Linked DNA regions of Homo sapiens: region 1 is linked to region 2. The links are contacts of gene promoters, found by promoter capture Hi-C in human tissues and cell types (Jung and others, 2019). All regions are on one chromosome and are shown on one strand. Each heading gives the region's core, a stretch centred on a gene start or on the middle of the fragment in contact. The rest is flanking DNA. Distances are from core to core; before and after follow the strand shown. Region 1 overlaps LIFR (LIF receptor subunit alpha). Region 2 holds the start of OSMR (oncostatin M receptor).

Region 1 (7,407 bases), core at 665-3,164, 310 kb before region 2:
GGCTGAATGAATACCAAGGCACAAATTATTATATGCCCACACAGTATACTTTCATTGTTAGGCTGCATGCTAACCCAGGTACTGCCAACACTAGGAACCCAAGTTAAAGCTCTGGCTCCCAAACTGCACTGAGGCACCCCAAGACACCAAAGCAAACTGACAGAGCTATCACAGAATATCTAAGTTTTTGAAGGAAATAAAGTGACATCTGTCCAACACTCTGAAAACCGTTAGTTCAAGGTAGTCCACAGTTTCAATATTTGCTCATGCTACATTTTTTTGTGTGACATCGTATCTTTATCTTTGGTGAAGAGAGGGAGGGACTAGTAATTGCTGGGATAAAACACAAGTACTACCCAAACAAATCAATGTAGAAATGGAAATGAGGGTGCTGGTTTCCAAGATTTGGGAAGCTATGCAGTACTCAATAGCTTCACACATCTCATCAGTAATTAAGGTTTTTTAAGAATGAAATAAAAATACTACCATAGACCCTTCATATCCCAGGGTTCTGCAACCACAGATTCAACCAACCTTGGATTGAAAATATTCAGAAAACAAAACCAATAAAAGACAACAGTACAACAATAAAAAAACAGTAAAAAAAAAAGTACCGTTTAACAACTGCTTACATAGCATTAACACTGTATTAGGGATGATTTAAAGTAATCTAGAGATGATTTAAATCATATGAGAGGATAAGCACAGGTTATATACAAATACCACACCATTTTATATTAGGGACTTGGCATCCAAAGATTTTCACATCTGTGAAGGTCTTGGAACGTGCCCCCACAGAGATAGAGGGACAATTATATTTTTCCTTTTAAGTGGATACACGTTATTTCTTCAAACTGCTACTAAAGTGCTTGATCATAAATACTCATTAAATTGTTTGGACCCAGCTATTTCATAAAGAGAACTGTTAGGTAATTCTTTTGACTACAAGCATCATAAAAAACATTAACAAAACACGACGGGCACTGTGAACTATGACAGTCTGGGGACCTGAGTTAGAGGATAGCTTGGCTGCTTAGGGATTCCACTGTATCATACTTCAATATGCGTTCTGCATGTAGGAAAATAATATTGAAATTTAACATTTGCTACATTATAAAGACAAATCTATCACTGTGCATAATGCAGGATATTCATTCCCCAAAATAACTTTTTGGTCTATTATTCAAATAGAATAATCTTGTCAATTTTTTTTTCTTAATTCCTTTGCATTTCCTGGGAACTTTTAAAAATAGACTGTCTTCCAAAGTTTTTCTTTTTCAGGATCCTCCATGTCAGTTTTAGTAATCTCCATTGCAGTGTGGACTTCCCTGTTAATTCAAGAGCCAGTCCATTATGAACCTCAGCATGTCAAAACAAGTTTGAATACATCACTTCCATGCTTAAAATCCTCCAAAGGCTCTCCACTGTTTCAACACACAGTTCCAGTTCCATACTGTGGGCACAGCCCTTCGAGACGGCCATGAACCCCTTCCTCTCCATACCGCAGCAGCTCCCCAAACACTCCACATTCCCTTTGGTCTCAAGGCCTCTCCCAAAACCACTGCCTCCAATGGAGTGCCCCCTGCAATGTCTCCTATATTTCCCATTCTTCCATCTTTCGGGACTCACGCTATCATACTTTAGAGTAACATCTGACTACTCATATCCCACTTCAACTACGCTATAAGAGTGACTGGTATGTAACAGTCTTCAATAAATATAAAAGTCTACCAAACGAATGAACTTGTTTCTTCCCTTTTAACGATGAAGTGCTCTATTATTAAACAACCTGAAGAACATTCCTCCAATAAATCTTTAACATGCAGGAAAACATGACGAAAACTTATCTCTAAAAAGAAACAGGAACATCTCCATTTCCCAGTACTTCTCACTAATACCAAGGATTGTCTTTAAAAAAAAAAATTATTCTGTTGGGCCATAAATGGCATTTCTTTTTATTGCGTAATTAAAATATCCTTTCATATGTTTATTGATAATTTGCAATGCTTTATTTATAAGCTGTTTATTCTCTTTTGCTCCTTTTTCTAATTGGGCATTAATCATTTCCTTAATGATTGCTAAGAAAAAAAATCTTAATATGCATATTAACTCTGTTACATACATAGCAAATAGATTCCCCAATCGCTTTTACTTTCCAGTGAGTCTTTTGTTTAACTCTTACTAGATCAGATTTCTCTATTTTGTCCTTTGTGGTTTCTAACCATAAAGGTTTTTCTCATGCCGGGACTATGCAAATTGTCCTGATGTTGCCTTCAAGTACATTTAAGGTGTTTCACATTTTAAGCTTCATGCCATATAAAATTAATTTCAGTGTACAGTTGAGTCAAGGACCCACCTTTTCTGTTTCCCTCTAAGTGGTTACCACTTATCCCAACACCACTTATTAGGTAATCCATTCCTTCTCTCACTGACTTGAGATGCCATTCAGATTCTATTCCTACTTAGCTTCCTTGGTGGGACTCCTTAGCCTACTGCTCCTTCTATCCTTCACTTCCTGACTGAACAGTATTATCTGTGCTTGTGGCTATAACATCACTTGTATGCTAATTACTTCCAAATCCGTGTTCCCAGGATTGGCCTCTTCCCAGTTACAGATTAACCATTCACTAGACAATTTCTTGCTTACTTAGACAAATCCACTCAAGTAAGGTTCCTTCAGGCATGACAAAATATTCTGATGCTTCATATCCACTTGGATATTTCAGATTCCTCAAAAACTCCAGATGTACTGAATTAAGCTCACTTTCCCCTCCAAACCTGCTCTCTTGTAGCCCCGTCTTAGCCCATGGCACCAGTGTCTTCTGAGTAACCCTGACTCTTCCTTCTTCCTCACACCTCCCACCTGACTTGCCACTTTTACCTAAAACATGCCTTGACTCTTTCCCCATCCTCTCCCTCCAGTCCATTTCTACTGCTCTGGAGGCTGAGGCCCTCCTCACTCTCTGGCATACGTAATTTACAACCCTCTGGCAAGGGCCTCACACAATCCATCTTCCATAGTGAGTTGCAAAGCTTTAAATAGCATCTATATCACTAACCCTATCATTCTTTGAAGCTCCAGGCCAAATATCAGAAGGCTGGCCCACCAACAGCTCAGACAACCGTCCACACTAAAATTCACACGTCTATTCCGCAATCTTCTTCCACCTCCTCTACTCCTTTCCTAGGGGCATCTCTTCCTCTTGGTTCTCTCTTTTTTTTTTGAGACGGAGTCTCGCTCTGTCACCCAGGCTGGAGTGCAGTGGCGCGATCTCGGCTCACTGCAAGCTCTGCCTCCCGTGTTCACGCCATTCTCCTGCCTCAGCCTCCCGAGTAGCTGGGACTACAGGCGCCTGCCACTGTGCCTGGCTAATTTTTTGTATTTTTTAGGAGAGACGGGGTTTCACCGTGGTCTCGATCTCCTGACCTAGTGATCCGCCTGCCTCGGCCTCCCAAAGTGCTGGGATTACAGGTGTGAGCCACCGCGCCCGGCCTTCCTCTTGGTTCTCATGCTGACCACTATGTCCAACCAGACACAGTGCTCTGTTTATGCTCCCACTGGACATCAATTTCCCCTTTAGGCATTGTTCTTATCATACCAGGTATTATGGAAATCATTCTCTCCCTTCCTTCCACCCTCTTTTCCACTATAAGCTAAGATCAGAGCCTTATCTTTGTAAAATCCATAGTCTAGGAGTGCTTTATATCCACCACACGTACAAGATTTATTTGGTGACTGAAGCAAATCCATTCAAATAGAGTCCTCGGTGAGGACTTAAAATATTTTCATACCATTCAGTTATTTGTCTACATTCTGAAGAGTAAGCTGACAAACTTTATGCTTTTCAATGAACCTGTTTGCTATACAAAAATTCATTAATAAAAAGAATACTGGCTCAAATTGAAGTTTTTTTGGTTTTTTGGGGGGGGTAATACATAGAGTAAAACTATCCCTAAAGGCCTTTCTAAATTCTAGGAGGGGGAAAAATACTAATTACACAATAATTCTATCTAGGTAACAAGCTGGTTTTAGCTAACTCTACCATGTAAAATATAATTTATACATATATTTCAGATATTATGCATTATTTAAATACTGTTTATTAAGGAGCAGCCACTTTTCTAAGTTCTTTCAATGAAAAATTGGATTTAATTTTCATATCAATCCTATAAGGTCGGTATTATTCATATTATTTCCCTCTTTTTATAATAAGAAAACTGAGGCACAGAAAGGTCATACAGCTAGTAAGGAGCAAAGTGGGATCTGTAGCCAACTCTGACTGCAAATCTCAGCTCCAGGCCATTATACTAAACTGTAAAATGAGCAACTAAGCTGGAGTCAGGAGTCCTGGACTCCAGTCCCTATTCTACCACTGAATAGGTGACAGGTAGGGGCTCGCAGATAAATCACCTAACATCTCAGGTCTTAGCTCTCAAATTACACAACTAAGACCCAGCACCTGCTTTCCCTACTTTAAGTATCATAAGAAACTTACGGTTGTTTTGTTTTCAGAAAACCTTGTTTGTCACCTGCAGGAACAAACTGGTAGATGTACAATGTGATTAGAAATTCAGCTCTCCCCCGACCTGTCCGGTGAATACTGTTGCTGGGGGAAACACCACCTGCTCTACCAAGCACTTCCACTAATCACATTATAACAAAGATCAGACAGTCTATGTTCAGAGAACAAATGGAAAATAACTGCCATCTTACTGTTCTCCTTCCAACTCTAAGTACACTTTTAATTGGTTAAGCTCTCAACTCAGCAGGTGCAAACTCAAACATACTCCAAGAGCCAGCCAGATGAAATGACTGGAGCCATTCACATGACACAGGCTGGCGGGCAGCCCCTCGCCAGCTCCTTGTGTCTGTATTACACCACAGAGGACGAGCGGCCAGTACAGCCACAGATCTTCCAGTTTTTCCAAAAGGGCAGGAAATCCAGGTTGTTGCTTTTTTAGTTTTTTTTATTATTATTATTATGAAATATCCTTATTTTTAAATGCTGGCAATTAATTCCAATTAAAAAAAAAACACTATGTGGGCCAAACAAAATACATTTGCAAGCCAAATATAGTTCTTAGGGAGCCAGTTAACCTGTCACAAAATGTACTGGCATTAAAAAATTCTTGTCTTGCTGCTGAAATAATCTTAAAATATAAACTGTTTTAAGACCTAGATTTCAATGCACAGATGTTGACCAAAATGTGCCTGAATGCTTTCTTAACATTCTTTAGGGTCAGAATCTGAAGCTTTCCACTCCAAAATAATTCAAAATTTTTTTCTTTATGACATTATTTAACCCCAGATATCAAAATCTTAAGCATCATCTTAGATTATGCTTCTCAAAACAACAACTAAAATAAAGCCTTTAGCTCTGGCTTCAGACCACGGTCTACAACATCTAAGCAGGTGAAACATCTTCTATGTAAGAGTGGAACAGCATATGAAAAACATAACAGCACCTAAAATAACTGATATTTGGCAAAGCTATTTCAGAAAGGGGCATTCTTGTTAAGAAATAAAATCCTACAGACACAGAGGCCTGTGAGCTTGATAACTGATCCTGGATAAGATGATCAACAGTACTAAGAAAGGAATCCTAGAAAACCTCAGACCCATGCACGTCAGCCCATCCTTAGCCTCGACTTGATAAGCTGTTGTACTGGGAAAAGCAAGGATCAGAAACAACAAAATGTATCTCTGTTTGAACAAAATCTTTTCTAATACATGAAAGATGAGTATTAGCAAGGTAAAGAAATTCAAGCTGTGTAAACAGAGTGAAGAGGCTGCTTTTATCACATGATCAACCTTACTCAGAGTGCTAATTCATAGGATGATGTCAACCTGGACAAAAGTGATATAGACAGATATCAAAAACTTCTGTTTTTCTTGGTATCTTCATTAATGAGTTGCATGAAGATATAGGAATCATATCCAACTTATCTGTGGATGGAAAAAAATGGGCAAAATAGCAAATATACAGGGTGTAATAATAGGATTCTAATAAATAAATCCAATAAAATAAATTCAGCATGGATGTCAGGGTCCAAAATGAAATGATAATGTTGATAACAATAACACACAGAAAATGAACAAATACAGATGGGAGGAGATATGATTTAGCAGCAACACACGGGAAAACCACAAAAAAAGGTTAATAAGCTGGGCCAATATTGTAAGATGGCCATAAAAATATTAAGAAGGACTACTTTTTTGTCTTCTCACTTTATCAGACACATAATGTCTAAAATCGTGTCCTCCAGTGGTATTAAAATTGGAGGATTCATTTTAGTTTGAAAAATAAGTAGATAATCTAATATCAAAGTATTAACATGAAACATAAATTATGATTGTTGGTTTTATTACTGCCCAAGTCATCATAAATTCTTGCTCAATGTAAATCTTACTCTAGTAAATCCCATCTCACCATAAGTGCCAGCTACTACCTATTTCATAGAAGAAGTACCCACATGTGGGGACACTTGAACGTTTAGCAACTTGAGGGTAAGGCATCAATAAATCTGTGTTTGAGAGCTTTAAATAACAAATCCTTTTTTATTATGTAAGTTTAATCAGAAGCTTTATAAAAAGGACATGATAGAAGACGGTAGAGGCAGCATGATGCCTCTAGTTATGACTACCACTTGTGCCACTCCCTCAACTTTACCAGGTAAATAAGGACAAACCTCCAGAGTCGGGCCTAGTTGGGGCCTCTTTCCCTCAGCCTGCACAAAGGCAATGCTTCTAACCGGTCTCAGGACTTCTGATCCTCCCATAGCACAAATTCAGTTTTGTATGCCTAGAATCCTCCATGGCTCTCCCTGGCCTACAGGGAAAGGTCCCAAGTTGAACAGGGCATGAGGCTCTAGCTTTTTCATGCCAGCCTAAGTCCCCAGTGCCATCTCTGTGCACCTCCTCACAGTGGCCCCGTGCTTAAGTTCCACCAAATGTGTAAACATGTCAGGCTCTGTGGTGCCTCAGTGTTCCCGCACAGACAGATCATCTACCTGGAATGTCCTTCCCACTCCACTCTTCCTTGTCCCTTTAACAAATATCAACTCGTCCTTCAAATTTCAGTGCACACTGTTCCAAATCCAACCTTCCCCAGTGTTCTCAGGTCGTAATGCATATGCTTACATTACTACATATAATATTATATAGCAATGATTTATAAAACCATCTTTCTCACCAAACTGAGCACAATGAAGATTTTTTCCCTGGGAAAAAATATGTGCAACAAATATGACAAGTGTCACTATACTTAGGATATACAAATGGCTAAAAAAGATGCTAAAGCAAGATGAATACCTTCAATAGAAATAAAAATATGCAACTCACATACTAAGAAATATAAATAGGCAATAAACATGAAAATGACGTGAAACCATATTTCTACTGATTGG
Region 2 (7,419 bases), core at 2,153-4,652:
CCTCTGAGAAGTTAGATAGGTTGGCAATACATTCCACTAATCCCTCCTCCATAATAGTTATACATATGAGACTTTCTGATGGAAGATGGAAGATGAAAGAGGATGGATCGAGAATCATTCCCAGGGTTTTAACTTCAGTGTCCAGAGGACACTAAATGAAGGCTGGCCCATTAACTTAGTAAAGGTTAAAGGCTGGACCATTCACTTAGTATAATAAAATCAAGTGAGCATAACTGAAGTTTGAATTCGGGCATACTAATTTCAAAGTACTGTCTGGAGTGCAGATGAAATCATTGCAATGGAAAGGAAGAGCTGAGAGCCATCAAGGCACAAGTGATCATTGAAATCCTGGATGTGAATATGATTATTCAGGGGGCCCTGGGGCCCTGGGAAACACCAACATGTAGGGGGCAAGTGGAGAACAAGAAGTCCAAAAATATGAGGGAGGAGGAAGTCAGGGAAATGAAAGAAGAATGGAGAGAGTATTGCTACTGAAATCAAAAGGAAGAGAGAACGTCAAGAAAGAGTGTTTAATGGGCCGGGCGCGGTGGCTCACGCCTGTAATCCCAGCACTTTGGGAGGCCAAGGCAGGAGGATCACGAGGTCAGGAGATTGAGGCCACCCTGGCTAACACGGTGAAACCCAGTCTCTACTAAAAATACAAAAAAATTAGCTGGGCGTGGTAGCCGGCGCCTGTAGTTCCAGCTCCTCGGGAGGCTGAGGCAGAATGGTGTGAACCCAGGAGGCGGAGCATGCAGTGAGCTGAGATCGTGCCACTGCACTCCAGCCTGTGTGACAGAGCAAGACTCCGTCTCTAAATAAATAAATAAATAAATAAATTAAAAATAAAAACACACACACAAATAAAAAAATAAAAAGAGTGTTTAACGAAGCAGAATAATATGTGCCTTGGCCACACAATCTTATCAAAACTAAGCAAGGATGGATATTTTAGCTCTTAGCTTAATAAGCCATTGGTATTTTTCATCTTTTTCCTATTAGTTATTTTCAGGATAATTGTTTAAAACTAACTTATGGAACATAACCTATGTATCAGTTTCCTAAGGCTGCCATAACACATTACCACAAACTTGGTGGCTTAAAACAACAGAAATGTATTCTCAATCTGGAGGCCAGAAGTCTGAAATGAAGATGTTGGCAGGGCTAGCTTCTTCTTAGGGGTTCAAAGGGAGCCTGTTCCGTTCCTCTCTCCTAGCTTCTGGTGGTGGTCAGCAACCTTGCCATTCCTTGGCTTGAGTCAGCATAAGCAGGATCTGTCTCAGTGGTCACACAGTGTTCTTTCTGGGTGTCTGTGTCCAAATTCCCCCCTTTTCAGAAGTACAGCAGACACTGGATTAATCTTATATGACCTCAGGTTAACTTGATTAAAGCTGCAAAAACATTATTTCCAAATAAACTGATATTTGGAGGTTTTGGGTGGATCTGACTTTATGGACCCAGTGCACCCACTGTTAAGGGTATAATCGCGAATTTATATGGTGCTACTGCATCTAGATTCTAGAATAACGTATAAATTTAAGAAATTAGAATGGTGCAAAAACAGATAAATTATATGTGGGCACCAAATTTTTACACTTCAGTCTCCTTCAATTGCAATAGGAGCCCAAAATAAGCCTCACTTTTTAGAAATTCATACTGGGCTGAATATTTTTATTTGACATCTCATTTGCTAGAAGAGAGATCCCTTTTAACTGTTTCTATAAAGAATAATTTTTTTTCTCAGTAAAATATAAAATCATAAAGACTTTCCAACTCTTGGGCTTGGCAGTTTCCATAACCATGCAGATGGCTAAACTAATGGACTCTTTAAAACTCTTCAAGTAATGAGAGGTGTGGCAAAGGACCATACATTTATTGAGACAAAAATACATTTTATTATCATCAAATATTTACTATGCATCATGGTCTTTGTGGCCCCATTAGGTATTAAGTGTATTAGGGCCTTTAGGCCTTTGTTTTAGGAAAAATAAAAAAACAAAAGGACTCTCAGCTTTCCTTGGGATGACATTGGGGAGGAGCCAGATATGTGAACAAACACAAAAGTAACATTTTAAAATAATTCTGACATTATTTTGAGTCATCCAGTCAATTCAATATAGGATTCTAAGATATGTTTATGGTCGATACTTGTTGATCACTCTTGGTTCCCTCCCCCACCCCCCTCCTACAACCTTGCTTTTGTGATACTTTCCAGGGTCCCCAAACTCAAACCAAACTAGGCTCAGCTGATCTGGAGCAAGGCCCCTTGCCTGCTGATTTGTCAGGCATCCAGACAGGCGAGGCTATGGGAGCTCCCGGTCCGAGGCTGCCTCGGAAGGCTCCTGTTATCCTCTAAGAGAGGTGAAATGCACCTTTCAAAGGCCCAGACACGGTAAAGATTGGATGGCATTTTTGGCCGGGCGCAGTGGCTGACGCCTGTAATCCCAGCACTTTGGGAGGCTGAGGCGGGCGGATCACGAGGTCAGGAGATCGAGACCATCCTGGCTAACACGGTGAAACCCCGTCTCTACTAAACATAGAAAAATTAGCCAGGCGTGGTGGCGGTCGTCTGTAGTCCCAGCTACTAGGGAGGCTGAGGCAGGAGAATGGTGTGAACCCGGGAGGCGGAGCTTACAGTGAGCCGAGATCGCGCCACTGCACTCCAGCCTGGGTGACACAGTGAGATGCCGTCTCAAAAAAAAAAAAAAAAAAAGGTTGAAGATTGGATGGCATTTTTAAGGGGAAAAGTAAACCATGTGTAGCATGTCGTAGCATTGGGAAATAAAGGTTTCGGGACTGTTGTAGCCGAAGAAACTTTGTCGGACAGGGCGTTTCTGGATAGAACGCGAGTAGGGGAAAAATGGGGACCGTTTGATTCGGTTCAAACACGTTTTCGTTGCTCTGGACGCCAAATGGAAACACGGCCAAAATTTAGTTAAAGGACTTCTCTTGCCTGAAGATTTTCGGACGGGGATCTCACGGGTTTGGCCTCTGGGTTGGGATGACAAGTGCCCCTGTGGGATACACAGCCCCAGGCCTCATCGGTCACTCGGCTTACCTCTGGTTCCGCCGGCTGGCCCGTGCGTCCTTGGCCGGGGCAGGAGCAGCGCTGCGCGCGGGGCACGGAGCCTCGGCCGCCGAGTTTTCGGTTTCCAAGTTTCCTTCCCAGGCCTCTCCCACTTCCTCTTCTCACCAGTGCCCGCCCGCCCGCAAAGTCCGGGTTGTGAGGCTGCGCCTCCCCCAGGATCGCGGCCGCCTCCCCCCGGGACTGAAGGGAGGGAATTCCTGTGGGTCCCAGGAGTGCCAAGAGTGCGCAGCAAGACGGGAAATTGCAAAAGACCTCACCCCTCTGCCCTCCCCCGCGGTTTTCCAGTAACTCCCGCCCCTCCGCGCTTGCCCCGCAGCTGATTCATAGCCCCGGCCCGGGCCGCCTCTGCACGTCCGCCCCGGAGCCCGCACCCGCGCCCCACGCGCCGCCGAGGACTCGGCCCGGCTCGTGGAGCCCTTCGCCCGCGGCGTGAGTACCCCCGACCCGCCCGTCCCCGCTCTGCTCGCGCCCTGCCGCTGCGCCGCCCTCGGTGGCTTTTCCGACGGGCGAGCCCCGTGCTGTGCGGGAAAGAATCCGACAACTTCGCAGCCCATCCCGGCTGGACGCGACCGGGAGTGCAGCAGCCCGTTCCCCTCCTCGGTGCCGCCTCTGCCCAGCGTTTGCTTGGCTGGGCTACCACCTGCGCTCGGACGGCGCTCGGAGGGTCCTCGCCCCCGGCCTGCCTACCTGGTGGGTGAAAACTAAATGATTCATTCCTTACAGGCCGCACAGTGCCGAGTCGCCCATTTCTCAGACTGTTTGAAATTCACCATCCCAGCGCCTTTTTCTCAAATGATGGTGGAATGTTTGTTGAGTGGAAAATTCCCACTTGAATCCCTCTTTCCTCTCTCCCAACACATCGTGTGGAGGAGTTCATTGCTTCCCCTACCTCTCCTCTCGTAACCCTTGACTCCCACCTGAGAGAGCCATTTTTCTGGGAATCCGTGTATCTCTCCCACCTGGTCCCTAGCGTAGAAGCGGGAGGAGCTCAAGCACAGGTGGAGAGAGGAATCCCCGGGCGACTCTGCAATAGCGTCCGTCCGGGGCGCTTACCTTCTTCTCCAGCCACTTGAGTGGAAGTGGCCCTCTACATTCTGGAAACCTAGGCACGGAGGGGTTCAGTAACTTGTCCAAGGCCATATGGCTAGCTGTGAGGGCACTGAAATCCGAGCCCGGCTCTCGCAGGCCAGGGCTTTACCCCTGACACCGCGATTCCTTTCTCGATAGTTCTTCATCTGCCCTTCATCCACCTACCCATGCATGCCTGCATCCGTCCATCCATCCTGCCTGCCTTGCTGCGGGAGGCACAGTGCTAGGTGCTGCTGATGGAGTGGCTTGGTAACAGACCTGCCTTGAAAACACTTTGGGAACAAGATATTCAAGAGAAGTAAATGGAAGGGTCTATGAAGGCAGAGAAGATAGAATTGAATGTAGGATACTTAGTTTGAGCTAGAAGGAATTCTGATGGAGGAGAAAGAAATTTTTAGGTTTTATTCCCAAGATTAAAACTGACTTTGGAACATGGGTCAAACTACTTATCACCTCTTAGTTTCCTTGTCTGCAAATAATAATGGTTCATACTTACTGTGAACCAGCCCCTATTCTAAGCACTTGACATATGCTAGCTCATTTAAGCTTCACGGGTGAGGCGGGTACTAGTTTTTTATTATATTTTATTGAGGAAACTGAGGCCCAAAGAGGTTTTGTAACTTTTCTAGGGTTACACAGCTAGCAGGTGACAGTATCAGGATTTGGGTTTGGAGTCTGCTCATGATCACCGTGCTGTAGCTCAAACTCTAAGACTGGGTGGGGTGTTTCATTATGGTCTTGCTTTGTCTCTCTCCTGGGCTGCTTTAAAATGCACTCAGAGCCCTTGATGTCCCCAAACTCCGCTGTGTCTGAGAATCATTTCTTGAGCTTTCAAAGCATCAAACTCCAAACACAGCCTTCTATTCAGAATCTTCAGGAAATACTCAGTTTGTTTTCCCCGTAGCATTTGTTCAGTGCCTCCAGTGGCAGGAAGCTCACCACCTCACATTTTATTGTAGGAAGAGCTAGTTCTCTGCTGTAAATTGCCTCCTTGTGACTTACATCTTGGTCCCAGTTCCCGTTTGTCCCAGCAGGTGTGGCTAAGCCTTTTGTATCAAAGGTGGCTTTGAGAGAAAAAGGCTGGTCTTGGGTGTTTCTTCCGCAGGGACCCGAGCCGCATTGGGGAGAACACATAAACACTGGTTCTTTCCCCCTCTACCCTTTTCTTTAACCTGAACAGACCAGGAACACATGCAGAGGTGTTCCTGGATCTCTCATGTTTTTGTAACCCTTTTGTCCTGAGGACAAAACCGAATCAGGAGAACTGTTACGGTTTTCAAAGGGGAATCAGTGGTACTGTATTTAACAAGAAGAAGGTGTGTATTTTCCTTGTGGGAAAGGACTGGGGCATTCATTGGCTGCAGTAGAAGAGAATCTTAGTGAGTGTGGTCTTGCTCACTTACAGGAACTGTGAGCCTTGGCCCTCCTTTCGCTGGGGGAGAAAATCCTTCTTGATTGCTTAAAAAATGTGTAAAATGGGGGGAAAAAAACCCAAACCAAAACAAATAGAATATCATGGCCTTGCTGGAGAAATCCCCTCCTCCAAGCAGGCTTCTTTGTAGCTACATGAAGAGAGAATTTCTTTTCCAACAGCTGTGTTGGTGGCTTCATAGCCTTCCTTCCCTCCTCATTTTAGTTGTACTGGTCGCTCTGCATTTGTGCACTCCACGTTGTATTCTATTTTTGTGTTTTAAAAATAATACAAATAATAACAACTCATTCTCACTCAATATAGAAGTGAAGTGAAATGTAGACGTGCCATCACCATCCTCCCTCCTCCCACTCAGAAGAGGGAAGGTTAAGTTTGATAATACCATTCTAAGGCTTGTTTTTCTTTTCTATAGTTTTACATAATACATACATATACATATGTTTTAAATATGCAAATTATCTTACTATACTTATTGTACAGCTTGCTTTTTCACTTTCCAAGTCTTAGAGATCTTTCCATTGTCTCTAGATACCTCTTTTGTTAATGGCTACGTGTTATTCTTTTTGTGTGTGTGTGAGATGGTCTCACTCTGTCACACAGGCAGAAGTGCAGTGTCATGATCATGGCTCACTGCAGCCTCGACCTTCTGGGCTCAAGTGATCCTCCCACCTCAGCCTCCTGAGAAGCTGGAACTACAGGCACATGACACCACACCTGACTTTTTTTTTTTTGTATTTTTTGTAAAGATTGGGTCTCTCCATGATGCCCAGACTGGTCTTGAACTCCTGGGTTCAAGCAGTCCACCTGCCTTGGCCTCCCACAGTGCTAGGATTACAGGCGTGAGCCACTGCGCCCGGCCAGCTACATGTTATCCTAAAGTAGAAATAGAATGTAATTTATCCATCCTTTCCTATATTGATGGACATTCAGCATTAGCAACGTTGCTTCAGAGCAGATCACACATTCATCTTCCTGCTCAAGTGTGAGTATTTCTGTGGAAGAGAATCTGAGGAGAGGTATTCCTGTGTCAAAGGGTTTGCCCCTTTTTCCACTTGATAGATACGAAGTGGAAGGTAACGATGTAACTTAATATTTTTGTAAAGTTTTAGACAGCTGATCCAATAGCATTTATTTAATAATTCATCTTTTTTCCAACTCATTTGAAATTCTGTTTTTATCATTAAATAAATTCCTGTTTGTAAAAGGGTCTGTGTCAGGATTCTATTCTGTTTCATTGATCTTTTTTTTTGTTTGTTTTTCCCTAAACCAATATTACTCTGAGTTAACTACTGTAGCTTTATAGTGTTTTTGAAAATCTTGTGGTATATATTTGTGCTTTTTAAAACAACTTTTTTTATAAATCACATACATTTTCTCTTTACAAATAGCCTGTCAAGTTTAATAAAATCCTATTTTTAATTAAGATTTTATTGAGTTTATAATTGTTAGCAATTTTTAATGCTTTAATGTCCACTTTGGTATGAGCTCCAAGCTTTAAGGAAACTGTGTCATGTGAACTTTGGTTAATGACTTATCTGATTTCAAATATTGGCTACACATCAGATTAACTGGGTCAGTTTGGATAAATTACTTGTCAACTTTCTTATCCTTAATTTCCTCCTCTGTGAATGGGAATAATAATATAATCCTTTTCTTAGCGCTGTTGTGAGGATTCAATTAATAAATGCATGTACGTCACTTAGCAAAGCACCTTGTAGAGAGTTAGTATCTTATACATGCTAGCTGGGATCTTTTTCATATTTATATCCTACTCATGGTTTTGCAGAGTGCCCTATTGGTAATAGGAACC

Evidence for each region. The method cuts DNA at HindIII sites, captures the fragments that hold promoters and counts their contacts. A contact is called where the count stands out against the background at its distance.
Region 1: a fragment that was not itself captured here is called in contact with the fragment with the promoter of OSMR in region 2 in 2 of the 25 tissues and cell types used here (IMR-90 fibroblasts and aorta).

What each region holds. Positions count from the first base shown.
Region 1 is chr5:38,535,755-38,543,161 of GRCh38, forward strand. All of the region lies in intron 1 of LIFR (LIF receptor subunit alpha), which reads right to left. Among named protein-coding and RNA genes, the nearest start is that of LIFR, 17 kb to the right of the region's middle. The HindIII fragment of the contact is 4,458 bases long and covers 1-4,143 here.
Region 2 is chr5:38,842,610-38,850,028 of GRCh38, forward strand. It overlaps OSMR (oncostatin M receptor), which reads left to right and starts at 3,403. Exons shown (of 18, transcript NM_003999.3): 1 at 3,403-3,778. OSMR-DT (OSMR divergent transcript) reads right to left here and starts at 3,220. Exons shown (of 4, transcript NR_109951.1): 1 at 3,059-3,220. The HindIII fragment of the contact is 7,742 bases long and covers 1-5,912 here.